4 separate regions of the Homo sapiens genome follow, and all the other regions are linked to region 4. The links are contacts of gene promoters, found by promoter capture Hi-C in blood cells and fetal thymus (Javierre and others, 2016). All regions are on one chromosome and are shown on one strand. Each heading gives the region's core, a stretch centred on a gene start or on the middle of the fragment in contact. The rest is flanking DNA. Distances are from core to core; before and after follow the strand shown. Region 1 overlaps NET1 (neuroepithelial cell transforming 1). Region 2 overlaps FBH1 (F-box DNA helicase 1). Region 3 overlaps ANKRD16 (ankyrin repeat domain 16). Region 4 holds the start of ASB13 (ankyrin repeat and SOCS box containing 13).

Evidence for each region. Contacts are between HindIII fragments. The CHiCAGO score rates a contact against its expected background, and 5 or more counts as called.
Region 1: a contact is called between a fragment that was not itself captured here and the fragment with the promoter of ASB13 in region 4, in 5 of 17 cell types (megakaryocytes, fetal thymus, naive B cells and 2 more). The highest score is 7.4, in megakaryocytes.
Region 2: a fragment that was not itself captured here is called in contact with the fragment with the promoter of ASB13 in region 4 in 1 of 17 cell types (total B cells); the score reaches 6.1 in total B cells.
Region 3: a fragment that was not itself captured here is called in contact with the fragment with the promoter of ASB13 in region 4 in 5 of 17 cell types (total CD8 T cells, megakaryocytes, endothelial precursors and 2 more); the score reaches 6.2 in total CD8 T cells.

Annotation. Positions count from the first base shown.
Region 1 is chr10:5,439,664-5,442,363 of GRCh38, forward strand. All of the region lies in intron 3 of NET1 (neuroepithelial cell transforming 1), which reads left to right. Among named protein-coding and RNA genes, the nearest start is that of NET1, 28 kb to the left of the region's middle. RefSeq lists an enhancer at 2,591-2,700. The HindIII fragment of the contact is 7,838 bases long and covers 1-2,700 here.
Region 2 is chr10:5,896,006-5,898,705 of GRCh38, forward strand. The region is part of intron 1 of FBH1 (F-box DNA helicase 1); the gene reads left to right. Among named protein-coding and RNA genes, the nearest start is that of FBH1, 7.1 kb to the left of the region's middle. The HindIII fragment of the contact is 3,818 bases long and covers 1-2,700 here.
Region 3 is chr10:5,877,002-5,879,701 of GRCh38, forward strand. ANKRD16 (ankyrin repeat domain 16) reads right to left here. Exons shown (of 8, transcript NM_019046.3): 7 at 1,096-1,286. The coding sequence ends at 1,129. Among named protein-coding and RNA genes, the nearest start is that of ANKRD16, 12 kb to the right of the region's middle. The HindIII fragment of the contact is 1,358 bases long and covers 640-1,997 here.
Region 4 is chr10:5,665,145-5,667,844 of GRCh38, forward strand. ASB13 (ankyrin repeat and SOCS box containing 13) reads right to left here and starts at 1,451. Exons shown (of 6, transcript NM_024701.4): 1 at 1,365-1,451. The coding sequence starts at 1,407. RefSeq lists silencers at 1,035-1,084, 1,385-1,454. The HindIII fragment of the contact is 2,178 bases long and covers 376-2,553 here.

The DNA.
Region 1 (2,700 bases), core at 63-2,562, 230 kb before region 4:
CGGAGTCATTTTCTGCTGTGGAAAGCAGAGCTTTGCTCTGGAACCCTAAGGCTCTGCATTGCAGTTCTCTTCCTGGCCTTGCCAGAGCATCACACAGCATCTTTGTCTACCATAAATACCCAACCTTGATGTGATATACCAGGTCACATGGCCTGAACAGCAGGGCAGTTTGCACCACAGCCTGGAGGACCTGCTACAGAGACCTCTGTTGCTCTGGGACCTACTCAAAACTATCACAGCAACATTCCCAAATATAGCAGATACTGCCTCCAAAAGATGAAGAGTCCTGCTAGCACTGTGCCTAGAAGATGCAAGGTGCAACACCTGTCCTTTCCTGTAGCGGGGAGATCCCAGAAAGCCTCAGGCCGTTGGATCTATTAAAACTTTTCCAACATGGCAACCTCTGAATTTTTGTGGCATGCGTTTGATTTACTGGGATATCCAAAATACTTTCCACTTCCTATTCACCAGGTCTTTTTGGTATAATGTTATTAATACAGTGGGCCTGTATGATGTTCTGTGAAATATCCGGTCCTTGCCGACTTTGTGACAGAAAACAAAGTGAACAGCTTCAGGACGTGAGCAATCACAGGCTGCTGTCCTTCCCACCTAAAAGCAAACTACTTTTGACCCTTCTTACTAATGAGGATTGAAAAGAACACATAGGCCAGATCAGTAACCACAACCATAACCATGTAACAAATGCTAGATGATTTGTTGGTCTGCTCCAGTAGACTCTACATCTTGCACAACAGTTGAGGTTGGAACTACCACTTAAGTTTACAGTGGTCCACTGTCATTTACCACAGTCCACCTCATTATTGTAAGAGGCACTCAGATAAACAGAATGAGGATCTAGTGGAGACTATCACTTGTGCAGTCCGTAACTCTGATGGCTGATCTCTGCATTTTCTCCTGGTGTGCAATACTGCTTCTGACTTACCATCTTGGCCCAGGTGTAAGGGGTGAAATTTCAGGGACTCCCACTTAGCTATTCCCACCATGGTGCTGAGAACATTATGAAAGTTCTGTCAGCTGCTTTTTCAAATCTTTTAAAGCAATTAGCCAAAGCCAGTAAACACTACAATCATTACAATTACCACTGCCCCTCTCTTGTTCATTTGCCACCACTACTATGTAAGGCATTGCCTCACTACTCTGTGTCTCATCCCTATTCATACCTGTAGTCCTTATCACCATTTTACTAGTGAGTGAGTCTGTTTCAGAGTCCCATCCTGTGTTTCTGATCTCTAGGACCAATCTCAGTGTCCATATTTTAGCCTGGGTTCTCCCTCCAGAAATCAGAGCCTAAAACGAGGACTCATTGACAGGTGTCTTTCTTGAGGTATGATCCCAGGGAACAAGCTGGAGAAGTGAAAGAGAGGAGGCCCGTGCAGTGTCTAATTAAGCTGTCACTACTGTGGGCAGTGGGGTAGATCTCTCTGGAACCCTCTGAAGAGCTGTGTAAAACACACCACAGACTTCTCCTCTCAACGGACTGAAGAGGGGAGCTTTTATCCTGCAGCTTCTGTGCTCCGTTAGTCAACAAGTGGCCTTTCGGGTGTCCATCCCACACACCCGTGGCTACACATGTGCATGTGCCACACAGCAGCATCCAAGAAGCCCAGGGTGGAAGGCAAGAGATACACAGTGCAGCTGAGGCAAGGGACTGTGGGGTCACTCCTGTGGGGAGCCAGTTGCTATGGCAATGTCAAATTGGGCTGAGAAAACAGGAGGCTGGGCACAAGACACAATATCCTTTTGTCTTTAGTTTGGGGCCTTAAGCTGAAGTTCAGGGAAAAATGGGAGGAATCCCATTCAACAGCTTGTTACAGAAGACTAAGTGGTCTTACGTTATACTGGAAGTTATTCGTTACCTGAGATAAAAAGTCACCACTAACAGTGCTGATACCCCATTTGATTGGCTATTTGTGTTGTCATCGCACAAAAGAACCATTGTTTTGACAATACCAAACTTATTAGCCTATGAGACTATTTTATTTAAAGTGTGTCTAATAATACTTAATTGGTCTAAACTGATGTTTTTTCCCCAAACCAAATTCTTAGTACTAAACTTGGAGATTCAAATCACATATAACTTCATTACTAATTTCTTTCGTACTTATCCAGTTCAAATGTAACTCTTTTTGTTTTTAAGTTATTACTAGATATTTTGGAACTATGGTTTTTCAAAAGTTCCACTTTTCAATTAATACTTCCTTTTTAGTAAGATTTAAAATTTTATTTTTAACTAACCTATTTTTAGTGAGATACAGAGTATATGCTTGTAATCTTGAATTCTAGAGTTTTAAAATGGAATGTAGTTTTCTTATATTTAGAAAAAGTTCTTAAAATATTTCTTGTGAATTGTGGAATCTTTTTCATATACTTGTATCATTTTAAAATATATGTTTAATTTAGTAATATAAGACATGAAGGCTGTACAAAGACTGAAAATACAGATTTTACTGGTCATATTTTTCCACAAATTAAGAGATTGTTTATGTAGTCATCTATGTAATGTCGTTACAAATATAATTACAAAGTTGAAAAACAGGTTGACAATTGCATTTCACAATATCTCGTGTAGAGGGCAGCAGAGAGCTTAGATTTTGTTTTCTCTTTGCCTGTAGTATGGCTTCCCTAGTCTAATTTCCAATTGCTTGTTATTGTTCCAGGTAAAAGTAGATAATAATGCCT
Region 2 (2,700 bases), core at 195-2,694, 230 kb after region 4:
ATAAAGAAGATTAAAAAAAGAAGCCAGGCAAATGAAAGCATAGGGGAGGAGTGGCAGACACGCAGTTCTCACTCTGCGACTGCAGGAGTGTCTCTTGTTTCCCCCTTGTGCACTTTGAGGAATGAGGGGATAGACGTGGTCCCTTCCTTTTAGTTCCCCGTAGCAGAGTTCTTGTAAGGACTCGTTCAGGGGAGACTGATAAGGGTCTCATCTCCATCGGGGGACCTCACCAGGGCATGGAGTGGGTCAGAGTGGGCTGGGAGGGGATAGACTGTCATCAAGGTGAAGAGATTTGAGGGGTGGTGGAGGGCTAAACTCCAGATCTGACCACTTCAAAGTCAGCAAAGGCCAGGAATTGCTGGGGTAGGGCTAAAAGCTGAGGGTTAGCAAAGAGAGGTGGGTCCTGGAATGGGGACCCCTGGGGTGGAGGACAGAGAAGTCACACTGTTAGAAAGCCGTCACAGAAAAGGCAGTGTGGGAATGAGCTTACTTAAGCCTAGGGAATATTCATTTGACAAAATGGTTTGTGTACATTCTGGTTTTTCTACCCTGACACCTGAGGGCTCTAACACATTTCTGTTGGTTATTGTGGAAGAGAGTGTCCAAGGGTGGGAGCACAGATGCCGAATTTGGTGTGTAGGAGACCAATTTCAACAACTCTGGGGGCCTTGTAGAGTTTGCAAAGCCCCGTAAGTGATTCTAATCTCTCTGCACCCACAAGAACCCCTAGTTTAGACACAGCTTCCCTTTATCTGTGGTCATTCACCACAGATAATTTCATTCCCTAAAGAATCACAAGCAGCTTCTAACAGTAAATGCCCTTTACAGGAGGTGTAAAGTGCACTTGCTGTGTAGAGAGGGAGGCATACCATGAGCTTTGCGTGACTCAGGGAAGGAGGATTTTTATGGAAGAAGTAGCATTTGAGCATTCTTATTTTGATAAAGTTATTTTTGAACTGCTTTTTAAAAAGGTATATTAATAAGAATAGAAGGGTGATTAGAATTCTAGTGTAGTGTTTTGGTTTTATTTTTAACCATTTAGCAAGAACATTAATGCTATTAAAACTGATGTGCCTTAGGAGACCCTCAGATTGGTGTGGTAGTCACATATTTCTTCTGACGTTTCTGTTGCTAGGTGTTGACATAGATTTAGAGATAGGTGTTGTCACCCTCAATGTGGGTGGCTTGAGTACTTACATATATATTGTCTCATTCTCTGAATTCAGCATGGCAGGTTATTATAATCCTCGTTTTCATAAGCAAGGCTTTGGCGATGAATATACCTGCCAAGTGTGGGTCTTCTCCTGCACCCCACAGCCTCGGAGGGGCTTTAAGGGAACATTAAGTGTAAAGCGTGTAATTGCAGAGGAGGTGGACACAGGGCTCCTGCGGAGGAGGTGGACACAGGGCTCCTGGCTCCCAGTTCAGAGCATCACAGCACCTCTCTCTGAGACCAGAGATACAGGTTAGTTTTCCTGACCTCCAGCTGACGTTAGAAAAGTTATTTTTGATACATATATCCAATAAGTCCAAGGGGTGGGGAATCCAATAAAAGTGTTAATAAAAATCCAATAAAAGTACCAGCTCTCCCGCCAGCCAAACTATGGCTGGTAACGCCATTCCAGTTATATAGGTTACTTATCTTAGTGCACAGAGGCCAGATCACCAGTCTAAGCGCCCCTCCCCCGGTACCGAACCTCAGTTCCTCCCAGGGTGGCTTCATGCCAGAACATATTGGAATATACCGGGACTCCCTTGAAGCAGAACACAGTGTTCCAACACTCCCATTAGCACTTTCTGTTACTCCTGTGTCTTTGTTAGATTTCTGCAAACACTTAATCTTCGCAACAAGCATTTTGGATTCAGACGTATTTTCTGAGATAAATACATAAATAAAAATCTATCCTGTTCATATTACCTTTTCCAAAGCAGTTCCCTTTGGGACTGAACATTTTTGATGTTCTGTCATCAGTCTGTTGTGAGCTACCAGGGAGGTCTCCCTGTGGGAGCAGTTCTGTAGTATATTCCTAGGGATTAGAGTGTAGGCTCCTGGACCTCCCAGCCGAATTCTTCTCCCTGCTCCTCATCCTTCTTGACCCACTCAGTATTCACAGAACGTGTGCTGCCTCAGTCCATTTGGGCTGGTATAACAAAATACCATAACTGGGCCGCTTATAAGCAGAAGTCTCTCTCACTCACAGATCTGGAGGCTGGAAGTCTAAGATCGAGGTGCCAGCAGATTTGGTGTCTGGTGAGGGCCGCTTCCTGGTTCATAGACGGCACCTTCTCTTTGTGTCCTCACATGGTGGCAGGAGTAAGGGAGCTCTCTGAGACCTCTCTTATAAGGGCACTAATCCCATTTGTGGGGACTCCACCCTTGTGACCTTATCACTTCCTAGAACCGCATTTTTTTTTTTTCTTTTGAGACACAATCTCTCTCCATTGTCCAGGCTGGAGTGCAGTGGCACAATCTTGGCTCACAGCAACCTCCACCTCCCGGGTTCAAGTGATTCTTGGGCCTCAGCCTCCTGAGTAGCTGGGGTTACAGGTGCCCGCCACCACACCTGGCTAATTTTTATATTTTTAGTAGAGATGGGGTTTCACTATGTTGCCAGGCTGGTCTTGAACTCTAGACCTCAAGTGATCCACCCACCTTGGCCTCTCAAAGTGCTGGGATTACAGGCATGAGCCACTGTGCCT
Region 3 (2,700 bases), core at 69-2,568, 210 kb after region 4:
CAGGCTTCCGTGGGTGGATGGGACAGGCCAGAAAAATGGGTTTTAAAGACAAAACCCCATTCTTAAACTCAGGTTAACAGAAGTTTTGTAAATATCTTAGTTACATTTTCTTTTTTTCTTTTTTTTTTTGAGACGGAGTCATGCTCTGTCGCCCAGGCTGGAGTGCAGTGGCGCTATCTCAGCTCACTGCAACCTCTGCCTCCTGGGTTCAGGCAATTCTCGGGCCTCAGCCTCACTGGTAGCTGGGACTACAGGCATGCACCAGCACAGCTGGCTAATTTTTGTATTTTTAGTAGAGATGAGGTTTTATCATGTTGGCCAGGCTGGTCTTGAACTCCCGGCCTCAAGTGATCTGTCTGCCTCAGCCTCCCAAAGTGCTGGGATTACAGGCACGGGCCACCATGCCCGGTCCTTAGTTACATTTTTTACATGTATTTATTACTTGAAGGGGGTCAATACTGAATTTATCTATTAAAACAAACAAAAACCCTCAAGATTAAAACTTGATAGCTTAACTAGCAGTGCTTAGAATATATAAAAGTTTTTATTAATTTCTTGTAAATGCCTGTGTAAACAGATTATAAGTATGTCCTTCTTGGCTACGAAACCAAAAGTGAACCATTGTAATGGCCAAGTAAAAGCTTATGAAGGAAGAAATTAAATGGGCCAACTGCATTTTATAGCTCAAGCTAATAGCAACGTATGTGATATTTTTGTTATTATTATCACAGCCTTACCATGCAGCAGTTACTATAAGATATTTCATATGTTTGTGAAAGTGTGTATGCTATATTATATTCATGCATGGTACATGCTTCTCTAAGGATCCCACAGCCTGATCGCGCAAACGTTATCTATTCTACTTTAAGAGTACAAAGAGTGAAATATGGACTACGGGAAGATTATGACTGTGCTTGGGACTCCATAATGTGCCTGTCATGGAGCTGGGAACTCAGCCCCCTGATCACTGGGAACTCCTCAGCAGGAGTGGAACATGCAGGATGAGGGAAGGGAGGAAGTGGAGGAGATGGAAAACTGGCTTCCAACTGGTTTCGCTGAATCTGTGACTGACTTAAGAAGCAGGATATGAATTACCATGCACTTTATTGCCTCCTCTTGGAAACATCCTTATGTCATTGCGCTATGGCCAGAGCCCTGAAGGACATCTGCTCTCCTTGGGAGCTGCTGAGCCAGGGTGCCCGTGATGTCTTCAGAATCCTTCAGTCCCGACTGCAGGAGAAACTTGGCACAGGCCAAGTGCTGACCTGCACAGGCCAGATGCAGGGCTGAGGGGTGACAAAAATCACATGGACTTAAAACACAATCCCTGGAGCAATACTGACCTCATGAGTTGATAGTGCCCAATAAAAATATCAATTCTTTCAATATCTTCCGTAATCCATCTTCACAACTTCACCTATACTAGATCAAAATATTTTTGTTTCTAACCTGATTGGGTTGAAAATAGTTTTAAAGATAACAAAACCAGTTAGAGAGGATTTAAGAAATTTATCTAGGCTGGGCGTGGTGGCTCATGCCTGTAATCCCAGCACTCTGGGAGGCTGAGGTAGGCAGATCATGAGGTCAAGAGTGTGAGACTAGCCTGACCAACATGGTGAAACCCCATCTCTAATAAAAATTAAAAAATTAGCCGGGCGTGGTGGTGCATGCCTGTAATCCCAGCTACTCGGGAGGCTGAGGCAGGAAAATCGCTTGAACCCAGGAGGTGGCGGTTGCAGTGAGCACTGCACGCCAGCCTGGGTGACAGAGCAAGACTCTGCCTCAAAAAAAAAAAAAAAAGAAAAAGAAACTTATCTAAAGCAAGAAGCAACAGAGCAAGTTAACAAGATATAGGATACATCCTCTTCATACGCCTGAATGCTCTGGAAACACACTTTAAATGGTACAAAAAACTTTCTAAAAGGCTTATTGAATTTGCTTTGTAAGTAAAAATATCACCACAAATAATCACGTAGCCAAAAAAACACTTTTGAACAAGCTTCCCACTCTGGGTGCAGAAATCAGCACTGAGGTTCCTGGTGTGCTGAGTTCAGGGGCACTGGTGATTCTGCTGCTTTCCCTCCAGCAGAGAAGCTGTGTCCCTTCCTGGGCAGAGCAGCTGCCCTTTCCAGCCCTAGAGTGAGTAGTTAGGTACCTGCGAGTCTTTGAAGCATCAGAAAGATCCCACTAGGCCAGGCGCGGTGGCTCATGCCTGTAATCCCTGCACTTTGGGAGGGCGAGGTGGGCAGATCACTTGAGGTCAGGAGTTTGAGACCAGTCTGGCCAACATGGTGAAACCCTGTCTCTACTAAAAATACAAAAATTAGCTGGGCATGGTGGTGGGCACCCGTAGTCCCAGCTACTTGGGAGGCAGAAGAATCGCTTGAACCCAGGAGGTGGAGGTTGCAGTGAGCCAAGATCGTGCCACTGCCCTCCAGACTGGGTGACAGAGCGAGACTTTGTCTCCAAAAAAAAAAAAAAATTCCACTAAACCCTTGCAAGATGGCCTTTGGCTCACAGAATGTTAGAGGGTTTATTTTAAAGTCCAAGTCTAAAGAATTTGCTCTCAGCAGATGTTTCTGAATATTCTAAATAAAAAAAATCATAATGAATATAGTTTCTAAATATACTCCAAAATGGATGACCTGTGAAGAATTGATACGATACCTGGCTAGCAGGTGTCATCATGGATTAGAAAGA
Region 4 (2,700 bases), core at 201-2,700:
CTGCGCAACAGCCCAAAACCTAAATGTTTTGGTCGCGGTACACCACACATCCAGAATTTGAGGTCAGAATGTTAAAATTGTCTAAAGCTCCTACGGTTCGCCTCTGGTGCTGCTGGAATGGCAGTATTGTTTTGGATCCAACACATTCAGCTTATTCATTACACTGGGAATAAAAAACATCAGCAGAACTTATTTGGGGAGAAATATATTAAATAAAAAATGACAATGTCAAAAATACCAGTGAACCTCAAAAGTTGCGGATTCATTAGTTTAAAATGTGCCTTTCTTCTACAGATGCATTCCATAACAAACGATGCAGAAGACATGCTCAGAAGTGATGCCATGAACAGAAATATTAAAATATGTGTTTAAATAAGCTTCTGCCGTTAGCTATTCACTGCTTACTCAATTAAGCTAATCAAATGCAGATCACAGTGTCAGGGTCAAAGTCTTGTGCTTGCCTGGACTGGAATGCCAAGTAAAAACACATGCTTATTAGATACCTTTGATCATGTCAAAGGTGGTTATTTTGCAAAGTCAATTAAAATATCTTTGCCTTGCTATGACTGCAACTTCCTCTTCAGCTAAATTTACCCTTAAGACTTTTCCCTCTTAGGTGCACTACTGTTTTTACCAGGATGAATATGCTTTAGATTTTTTTTTTCTTTTTAGGCTTTCATAGTGCTTCCGTCGCTCATTTCAGTGACCATATTATTGCTTCATAGGCAGCAAAAAAATTTGCTTCCCCAAAGAGTGTCCTTCCCTCAAATCCATTTCATTCTTGGGCTGCTCGGATTTTGGTAAAGTAGGCTGCGAACTGGGATGGCACTTTTCGGAGTGTGCCGGGGTGCCCCAAGGCCACCTTCACTGGAGCGGAGTCGGGGTCACGCGGACGCCTCTGCAGGATGCTCGGACACTGCGCCACGGCCTCACCCGCGCCAGTGGAGGGGGGTTTAGCTCTTACCGTGGGCTCGCGCCTGGCTTCCCCGAGAGGGAGCACCGTGGGCGTTTCCCAGGCTCTCCCCCGCCACTGGGCAACGGCCCCGCACGCGTCCCGCACCTTCCCCAGGGCGCGCGGCGCTCGGTGGGTTTGCGGTTGCGAAACCCCACACCTGGCGAGCCGCACGGACTGCAACCCCGCAGTGCGCTGGCCTGGGACAAGGCACCAGACATGAGAGCCCGTCTGGGATGCGCGGCACCACTGGGACCCTGCTTTCACCGCGGCCCACCCCGCCAAACGCCCCCGCCCACGGAGCCAGCGCGGGGCGCGCCACCACCTCCCCGGCGCAGGCCATCGGATACGCGGCCGGCCTCAGGAGCCGGCGCCGCTGCCTCGCTCTGACCTCCGCGGCGCCCGCACGTACCCACGTCGCCCAGGAAGCAGCCGTCCGCCGCCCGGGGCTCCATGCGGCTCACCGGCGGCCGCGCGGCGACTCTGGGCGCCGGGACCTGGGCCGGGCCGCGCGGGGCCGCTGGGCGGGGCCAGTCTGCGCTGGGCCGCGCGTCGTCCCGAGGCGACCGAGCCGGGAGTTGTAGTTCCCGCCGCCTTGGCGAGGTTCCCGGAGGCGCTGTCCCTGGGTCCGGACTCCGCTGTCGCTGCCCACCCCGCTTCGCCCGTCGCGCCGAGGAGTGTGTGTGCTTGCATCTGCAAACCGTGCGTCCCGTGCACAGAATACGTCCGGTGCAAAACGTGTCCTGTGCACTTGTCCTATGTAAACGTGTGTGTCCGTGTGCAAAACATGCATCCTGTGCATATGTCCTGTGCAAAACATGCGTCCGTGTGTAAACTTGTATCCATTGTAAGCATGCTTCCCTGTGTCCCTTTGCAAAGCATGGATATGTGTTTCCATGTGCAAAACATGTGTCCTGTACAAAACATGCATCCTGTGCATGTGTCCTGTGCAAGCGTGTCCTGTGCAAGCGTGTGCAAAACATGTGTCCATGTATAAACATGTATGTATTGCAAATGTGTCCTGTGCAAGCATGTGTCTGTGTCCACGTGCAAAGCATGCGTCTAGCTTCCAGAGTTCACTTGCATTGTACAGATGCTGATGATGCTCCAGAGTACTCGAGTTCCCCCATGCTTTAACTTTCAAGAACCGCTTCCCACCAGAGCCGGTGTTCATAATCACTGTTTCTTTGATCTTTCAAGATAATAATTTCAAATCGTTCAAATCAATTTCTTAATGCCTTTTCTTTACGGGTGGTTTTTAATCCAATGTTCCCCTAAGCTGCTTAGCAAATGGAAGCTGGGGCACAACCTGGCAGAAATGAAAAACCTGTTTCCTGTTTCCGGAATAATACCCAGTCAACAATTGAGTAAGGGATTTTTATTTTATTTATTTATTTTTGCAAAGCAGCTTCCCAAGTTTAGAAGGTTTAACCTTGTGAAAGTTCACTGTAGCCCTGTCAGGAGATTCGTCACTCACCTGACCTGTACTGAACCTCCATGCAGAAGTTAGTTTGGGCTCAAAAGTAAAAGTATCAGGAATCATCCAGTCTGGAAATAGGTGAGGCCTGGCAGAGCAGCCAGTTTGATCTCTCACACTACAAAGCTTCTGGGATGACCCAGGTCTCCATCTGCAGTCCAGACCGAAGGCACTATACCTAGGGGACATTGAACCATATCTTTTGGAAAGCAGAGCCCCTGGAAATGTGGAGCCCCAGGCCTGGGAATGGAATTTCAAGCCATTTGCACTG